Regions from separate parts of the Homo sapiens genome. Here region 2 is linked to region 1. The links are contacts of gene promoters, found by promoter capture Hi-C in blood cells and fetal thymus (Javierre and others, 2016). All regions are on one chromosome and are shown on one strand. The core of a region is centred on a gene start or on the middle of the fragment in contact, and the rest is flanking DNA. Distances in the headings are between cores, read along the strand shown.

Region 1 (4,415 bases), core at 299-2,798:
GAACAGGGCTACAATCTGAATTTGGGATTCATGCTTCTCTGTTCTTACACCATGCTGCCTAAACTTGTAGTGATAATTCCAAGGAAAAGTTCTTTAGATTATCTGTGATGTGCTCAGGTCTTTAAAAAGCGCACTTTGAAGAATGCAGATAAGGCAAAAGGAGTGTTTTTATATACTTTTGCATTATCTTTTTCTCCATGTGATCGTCAACAGTTTCTACTAAGAATTTCTCTACTGAATGTCTGTACTGAGAAAGTCATGTAATACAATGTGACAAACTTAAATTTTATTTTTCTGCAGTTTCTACAGCAGTATAATCACTACAAATCCAATGTGGAGATTTTCAAATTGCAACCAAATAAACCCAGCAAAGAACTAGCAGAGCTGGTGATGTTTATGGCACAGGTAAGAATATAATTGCTTAAATAAAGACCAGTATTAACACACAGTTTGCTGAATGTTTTTTCACTAATACTCAACCTTATTCCACTCTGGAATGGGAACTTAATTAAAATATTTTTCTAACTTTCCCTTTTTGCAAATTTTATTTTCTCCCTATCATGAGTTAGAGAATGTCACTAGATCTTTTTGCATAACTAACCAGGACAAAACTTTAAGACTATTTTTTTTCTTCAAATTCATCATAAAAGCAGGTACTAAATCATGCCATAAATATTACTAAGACTAGAGAAACCATGATAAATGTTGGAGAAATTAACATGTAGAAGGAAAAGAAGGTTGTTTGGAACCATCTACTTCTATGAAACATAGCCTTTTACTCTCGTTTTGCAGAACATCCTAAATGTATGCATCTGAATTATAGGAGAGAAAGAGAGCAACTTCAGAAGAGCCTTTGCTTTGTTACAGATTAGTCACTGCTACCCAGAGTACCTAAGTAATTTTCCTCAAGAGGTGAAAGATCTTCTCTCCTGCAATCATACCGTATTGGATCCAGATCTGCGAATGGTAGGACCAGTAGTTGGATGAATAAATTGTGCTGTGTTCATGTGTGCTGCGTTCATATATATTTAAATGAGAACAGCCTCTAAGCTAATTATCTTCAGAAAACGTAAATTATAATGTATTATCCTTTCCTAAAAATCCTTCTATGGCTTCTCATTTATACTTAGAGTAAAACGGAAACTTAATAACCTGGCTCAAAAGTGCCTGCATGATCTGCTTCCAGCCTGTGTTTCTGATATCATATTGTTTTCAGCTACACTGTGATCTTTCTATTCTTCCAGCACACTAACCCTACAGGATGCTCTTTAACCTTTTGAGATGATTTCTTCTAGTCATTCAAATCTCATATGCATGTAGAATCCTAATCACAACTTGTCATTTTTATAATGCCTTAAATTAGTAAACTTACCCATTAGACAGTCAGTTTGAGCATTTCATCATTGTCCTTTTAGTGGTTGGGGTTGAGTCCTGGCTGACATTCCCTTCACGAGGCCGGTGTACCTGTTTGCCCCACTTGTTGTGAATGTCAGCTGCTGGTGGCCCTCAGCTGCCCTTTCTCTGCAACATTGTCCTCAGCTAAATCGGAGTCCTAGTGCCTGGGAGGTGTCCTCCTACCCTAGTAGCCCACAGCCCATTATCATGTGGTACAAAAGCCCAGCCCATTACCTCAGGGTGGCTCTGACTCCAATGCAGGATGTGCTCCAGTGTTTTCCTGTGTTGGGACTAAAGCTAGTCTCCAGTCAAGGGCACATCCTTGCTTTGCTTTGCGTGTCTCTGCACTATCCTCCTTCCTTCACTTCCTTTCTGAGATCATACCCCCAACAAATCACTTGTAATAAATCAGTCTCTGCTTCTAGGGACTAAGACATTTCCAAATTTAATACATCTGCTTTTCAAACCTCTTTACAGCAGATAAGTACGCAAATATGATCACAAAACGTACTAATATCCTATAGCACAACTTGTAGAAATGCCAAGTCTTTAGATGAATATTTGTTTTCTTTTAGACTTTCTCAGGTTTTTTGTATTTCTATCATTTTTATACTACTTTAGGATTTTAGTAATTTGATTAGGCCAAAAAGAAAAAGAATACTGTCTCAGACAAGCCAAGGTTTCAGGCCCTGGGTTGTCAACTGATTGATACTCAGCTGGTACATGGGACCTGGCAGTATAGCCCAAGGGACTCCAAACTTGAACCCCTAGTCTAAAGGCTTTTACCTATGTCATGTTACTCTTGAAGTCCTTGTAGGTCATAGAGATTTGATATTTTGAGTATAGAGACTTAATGGCTTTCCAAGTAATTAGGATTTCTTTAAGTTTTATTTTCCTGGCAGTACCCCACCAAACTGGTCTGTGGGCATTATTAAATTAATATATATGCCAGGTGCACCTGTAGTCCCGGCTTCTTGGGAGGCTGAGGCAGGAGGATTGCTTGAGGTCAGGAGTTTGAGGCTGAGGTGTGGTATGAGCATGCCTGTGAATAGCCACTACACTGCAGCCTAGGCAACATAGCAAGATCCCACCTCTAAATTTTTTTTTAAATGGAAAAAAATGTGTATGTATATTTCTTTATAGTGCTTTATGATGATTAGTAGGTTTTTAAAAAATAATAAAGATTTCCGCCAGGCGCGGTGGCTCACGCCTGTAATCCCAGCACTTTGGGAGGCCGAGGCAGGAGGATCACCTGAGGTCGGGAGTTCGAGACCAGCCTGACCTACATGGAGAAACCCTGTCTCTACTAAAAATACAAAATAAGCCGGGCATGGTGGTGCGTGCCTGTAATCCCAGCTACTTGGGAGGCTCAGTCAGGAGAATTGCTTGAACCTGGGAGGCGGAGGTTGCAGTGAGCCGAGATCGCGCCATTGCACTCCAGCCTCTGTCTCAAAAAAAAAAAATAATAATAATAATAGAGATTTCCTTTACTAGGAGATAAAGGATTGCGTCTGTATAGTTAGCATTGCTCTTTAGAGGAAGCATTGAACACACTGGAAGAAGCTCTTTTTAATTGGTTATTGGGATAACCAACAATTCTTATCAGCCACTGGGCTATCTTTCTACCTGGTGTATTTGCTATTTTTCCAAGACTTTTTGAATCATTCCCAAGATTTTGTTCACTCTGTCCTGCTTACACAGATAGAAACATTGTATTTTTTTTGGAAGAAATAAAATATCCATATATAGTAATTCTTACCTACTTAGTCAAATCAATAAAAGTCAAGTTATATGTATTTCATTGACATTATAACTACCTTTTTATGTACTTTAAAACTTTTTTTTAGTATTATTATTTTAATTACTTTATGTTCAGATTGTCACCACCTTGCCAGGGGAAGCTTCTTAGTCCTTTTAGCAATTTCCCTGAATTTTTTTTTTTTTTTTTTTTTTTTTTTTTCTGAGACAGGGTCTGTCACTCAGCTGCCCAGGCTGGAGTACAGTGGTACGATCTTAGCTCACCGCAGCCTCAAGCTTCTGGGCTCAAGCAGTCCTCCCACCTCAGCGTGCCAAGTAGCTAGGACCACAAGGTGTGTGCCACCACACCCAGCTAATTTTTTTTTTTTTTGTGTAGAGACAAGGTCTCACTACATTGCCCAGGCTGGTCTTGAACTCCTGGCCTCAAGTGATTCTCCCACCTCAGCCTCCCAAAGTGCTGAGATTATGGGTGTGGGCCACCATGCCCAGCCTTGCCCTTGTTTTTGAAAGCATCCTTGAATTCTGGCAGAAATAGTTCCAAATTCATTCTTACCGTTTTTCCTGCCCCAAGACTTGGAATCAACTATTCTTCAAGGATTGTATTTCATCTAATGAAGGGTAACACAAAATTTGGGTGATAGGGCTACATGTAAGAGTTGGTGGTAAGCAAGAGTGCCACAGCTGCTAGGCGCATCAGCTCATGCCTGTAATCCCAGCTACTTAGGAGGCTGAAGTAGGAGCATCATTTGAGAAGTTTCCAGGAGCTTGAAACCAGCCTAGGCAACATAATGAGACTCTATCTCTTAAAAATAGAAAAAAAAAAAAAAATAGCTGGGTACCTACAGTCCTGGCTAATCAGGAGGCTGAAGCAGGATCACTTGAGCTCAAGAGTTCAAGACTAGCCTAGGCAATATAGCGAGACCCGTCTCAAAAAAAAAAAAAAAAAAAGGCGGGGGGCAGGCATGCAACAACTGCTGTTGAGCCATTCTTAGTGCTGATGGTACTTCAGAAGAATGCCTCGTAAGGTCATAAACTCTCATTGATTATTCCAATTTAGTGTATTATGTTGTTATCCCACCTGTCTTTATGGATTCAGGGTTTTGCCGTATGATGACACTACAAAGAGACCTTACTTGACCTCCCTGTGGCCCTCCCTCAGTCACTGTTGATCAATTACATAACCCTGTTTTACTTCCTTCATGACACTTATTTTCTTAGATCCTCCTTTTTATATGCTTACTTGGCTTGTCTGTCCTCCGTTC
Region 2 (4,051 bases), core at 140-2,639, 190 kb after region 1:
GGAAAAGAATTTACTATTCAATGAATCTGCCGGTTGAGTAAGACTAAGTCACTTTGTTCTCAAAATAAAAACGAAATCATACTGTGCACTCCTGTTGAATATAACAAAATTAATGAGAAATCTTTGTAGATGGATCTGCAAAGCTTTAACATTATTATTTATGTACTATAAAACTTGAGGGATGAGTATATCTTTTGGAATCAATACTTTTATCATTATGTGAATTATATTTTAGTAAGATCATTAAAAATTTTAACCTAAAAAATGGTTAACTATTGTAGTTTTTCCTTCAACAAATATCTAATTCTTCCTAGGATTCAGGATTTCAACTTCCACAGAGTTGGCTTTGACTTCATTTGCTTTACCTCAGTCAGGATATCAGCAGGAACCCCAGTAGCCATTAGGATAGTACAAAGCTGCTGCAATAACCCACACTGGAACATAGCCTTCTGGCAGCTACTGGTAGCACCAGGAGGGTTGGTGGGAGATACCAATACACGAACAAGCTGTGAAAGAAAGAGAAAACAAAATTTGTCTTTTAAAGATTTGAAAAGGCTTGAGGCAAATCTGATCTATGTGAACAAGAAAGTCTGCATGAAGTACTCCCTTAGCTGCTTAGCTACATTTAGGTGCTCTTTCTTTCGTGCTCCCATGGCAATAAGTTCTGTGATAGTAATATTACATTATGCCTCTTAAACTTAAGGTTGTCTTCTTCAGGTGACTGTGAACTCCCAGAGAGAAACTGCCTTGGTCATTTTTGTTTCCCAAAGAAGCATAGTACTTGTAACAGTACATATTTAATAAGTAAATGAATGAATAAGTTACAGAGTGGCAGATTTCTTTTCAAAGTTAATAATGAACTACCTAGTAAGAGAGCAGGTCTGAAAACAGAATGACCTGATGTGTGATAAATCTCCCCTAAACTGGAAATATTTAAAGAGAGGCTAAAACCAAAACTGGAGAGATGGTAAAAGATTCATGTATTAGGCATGGGGTGGGCTGCATTGATTGCTAATGCCAATTAAATCCCTATGATTCTATGATTACTTGGACTGTAAACATAAAATTTCAGAAACATGAAAAAAGTCATCTCAAATAACTATTTAACACAGTTATGTCTCCAAATTCATTTTACATGTGTGTCACATTTTAAAACTAGAGTTATGTGTATATATATGTGCAAAATCTTCTAAATCAAGATCAAATGGGGGTATTTATGATAATACCTTGTTAACAACAAAGTGCTATACAAACATTAACCATTATTTTATAGGAGATACACAGAAGTAATCAATGATTTAAGAGAGTAAACTAAAACACTTGTATTACTACAGCCGACACATATTGTGATCTATGGATTGACTCCACTAAGAAAGGGGATTTTTTGTGAGGGAGGAGTTAAATACTAAAACAAAAAAAAGTTTGAAAAGTGGTACTTTTTATTGTTGGTGAATAAAAAGGTAACCAGAAATCACTAGAATTAGAGAAAAACTTCAACCAGTAGTTAACTCAGTGAGTAATGACAAAACAGATTTAGATGTTTCCATGTCTGGCTTAACAGACATCTCAAAGAGGGTTCATTAATAAATTGATGTCACTAAAGAGAAGGTCAGGATTACATTGGTTCCTGTCCTTGGACTTTTCTAGTGAGATTTCTGGTGTTTTTTCCTCCCTTAATTTATTTCCCTCCTATCCTTACTACTTCTTTTCCTTCTTTTTTTGAGTATTTAAAACAAATACTACGCAATATGTCAATTGTACCACAAATAATTCTGTATGCATCTCCACTTGATATTTTTTGAAATATAATCATACCATTATTACAATGGACAAAATCAACAGTAATTTTCTACTATCCTCTAATAGCAGTTGAGTGTCTTTACTGATGATGTAAATAAAGAAAAAGGGAATATTTATGAGGATAAAAAGAGATCTAATAGCAACATGTAAATATATGAAATATTCACAAGGAATGAACATGTGTCATTCCAGAAAGCAAAAGTAAATTTACAGAAGTCATATCAGGACAGTTTATGACTTAATATATAAAGTTTCTAATAATTAAAACTACCCTAGAATGAAAATGATTATCTTATAAGGTTATGAACTTTCTGGGAGCTATTGGCAGTATCTTCCCAATAAAATGCCATAGAAGAGACTCCTGCAGGGATAAAAAGTAGACTAGCCATAAAACTATAATTTTTTAAAAAAATAAAATATTTTATAACTAAAAAACTTTTCAAAAGATGTTTTCCCTAAATATAGTCTGCAAAATTTGAATTAAAACTCAGCAAGCAGATCAATTCTGTTTTTAGTAGCTCAGAATGCAATCATGATAACTGTGATGATGAATAGTTCCAACACAGAATGTGTATGTCCCAACAGGAAAACAATGATGCATTTTTATTTAGTGTATAATAGAGAACTTAAAATCCAAGCAACTCTAAATAAAGTTATACATAAAGTATTCCAACAGGTTCTAACAGAATAGCAGAAGATAACTCCTGGCCTGTAAAGTCATGAGTGAATCTACTATTCAGTATTGCAGGTGGAGAATATATTAAAATGAATTAAACTCAGTTCCTCTGCTTTGGAGTTTACGGTCTTCACGACAAGTGTAAGAGATAAAAGCTTTACTAAGCTACAGAAAGTCAGTTTATTCACTTTTTAAAAGTAAAGAATTCTTAAAGAATCAACTTGTTATATAACGAGAATACTGTATTTTTCTGTTTACATGCTGTACTCTAATAATTTTTTGGTAATTTTTTTTTTTTTTCCTGAGATAGAGTCTCACTCTGTTCCCAGGCTGGAGTGCGTGGCGTGATTATGGTTCAATGCAGCCTCAACCTCCTGGGCTTAAGTGATCCTCCCCTTCAGCCTCCTGAGTAGTTGGGACAATAGGTGGACACCACCACACCGGGCTGATAAAGACCATGTTGCCTAGGTTGGTCTCAAACTCCTAAGCTCAAGTGATCCCCACCTGCCTTGGGCTCCCCAAGTGCTGGGATCATAGGTGTGAGTCACCACACCTGACCTACTTTACTTTTTAACAGTGACACTTCCTTCAGAATAATTCTTTACATAGTACCCTAAACCATAAAACATGTGTAGCTTCCTCAAACAATTTAAATTTTCACTGTTTGATACGAAATACATGCTTTTTTATATCATCAGATTCTCTCACCCTCTCTAATCACATTTTGGAAATTACTTTTCTAGAGGAATTTCCTTATTTAAGAAAGCAGTGTAGGCCGGGCATGTGGCTCACACCTATAACAGCAGCACTTTGGGAAGCTGAGGCAGGAGAATTGCTTGAGCTCAGGAATTCCTGACCAGCCTGGCAATACAGTGAGACCTCATGTCTACTAAAAATAAAAAATCCAGTCAGGTCTGGTGGCTTGCGCCTGTAGTCCCAGCTATTCAGGATGCTGAGGTGGGGGGATTTCTTGAGCCAGGGAGGTTGAGGCTGCAATAAGCTGTGAAGACACCACTGCACTCAGCCTAGGCAACTAAGTAAGAACCTGTCTCTTAAACAAAACAAAACAAAATAAAGCAGTTTTGAACAAAGGTATCAAGGTTACCACTTGGTGACACTGTTTCTAAAACATTAAAAAACTATTAACTTCTTAAATGTATAATACCAACATTTGAAAACAGAAATGATGAGTTGGGAGTACAAATAGACTCTGTAACTAAGTTCTCCTGGTAAATACTTTTGTAACAGTTTTTAGGCATATTCTAACTAGGGTAACTGCATAATTTATAATCCAAACCAGGACACTTTTGAAGTGAAAGAGGATGCTATTAGTAATTACAAAACGAGTAATGTACTGGCAAACTGGGACACAGATTACCCTAATTATCAGTCCTATGCAGGCAACTCCCATGGCATGGGACAACATTCAGCCTCTAATTACTAGCGGACCTAACCATCTAGTTAGGTCCACAACTTCCGAGAAACACAGGTATAATTCAGAGACATTCAAAGGCCCACAAGAATTATGAGTTCATAAGTAAGGAGACTAGTATAAACTTAACAGTTTGGAGAAGG

What was found. Contacts are between HindIII fragments. The CHiCAGO score rates a contact against its expected background, and 5 or more counts as called.
Region 2: a contact is called between a fragment that was not itself captured here and the fragment with the promoter of SDAD1-AS1 in region 1, in 1 of 17 cell types (M2 macrophages). The highest score is 5.7, in M2 macrophages.

What each region holds. Positions count from the first base shown.
Region 1 is chr4:75,977,923-75,982,337 of GRCh38, reverse strand. It overlaps SDAD1-AS1 (SDAD1 antisense RNA 1), which reads right to left and starts at 1,548. Exons shown (of 3, transcript NR_125906.1): 1 at 1,373-1,548. It overlaps SDAD1 (SDA1 domain containing 1), which reads left to right. Exons shown (of 22, transcript NM_018115.4): 2 at 301-405; 3 at 868-966. The HindIII fragment of the contact is 11,776 bases long and covers 1-3,298 here.
Region 2 is chr4:75,783,517-75,787,567 of GRCh38, reverse strand. It overlaps USO1 (USO1 vesicle transport factor), which reads right to left. Exons shown (of 24, transcript NM_003715.4): 10 at 366-506. Among named protein-coding and RNA genes, the nearest start is that of USO1, 61 kb to the right of the region's middle. The HindIII fragment of the contact is 2,488 bases long and covers 146-2,633 here.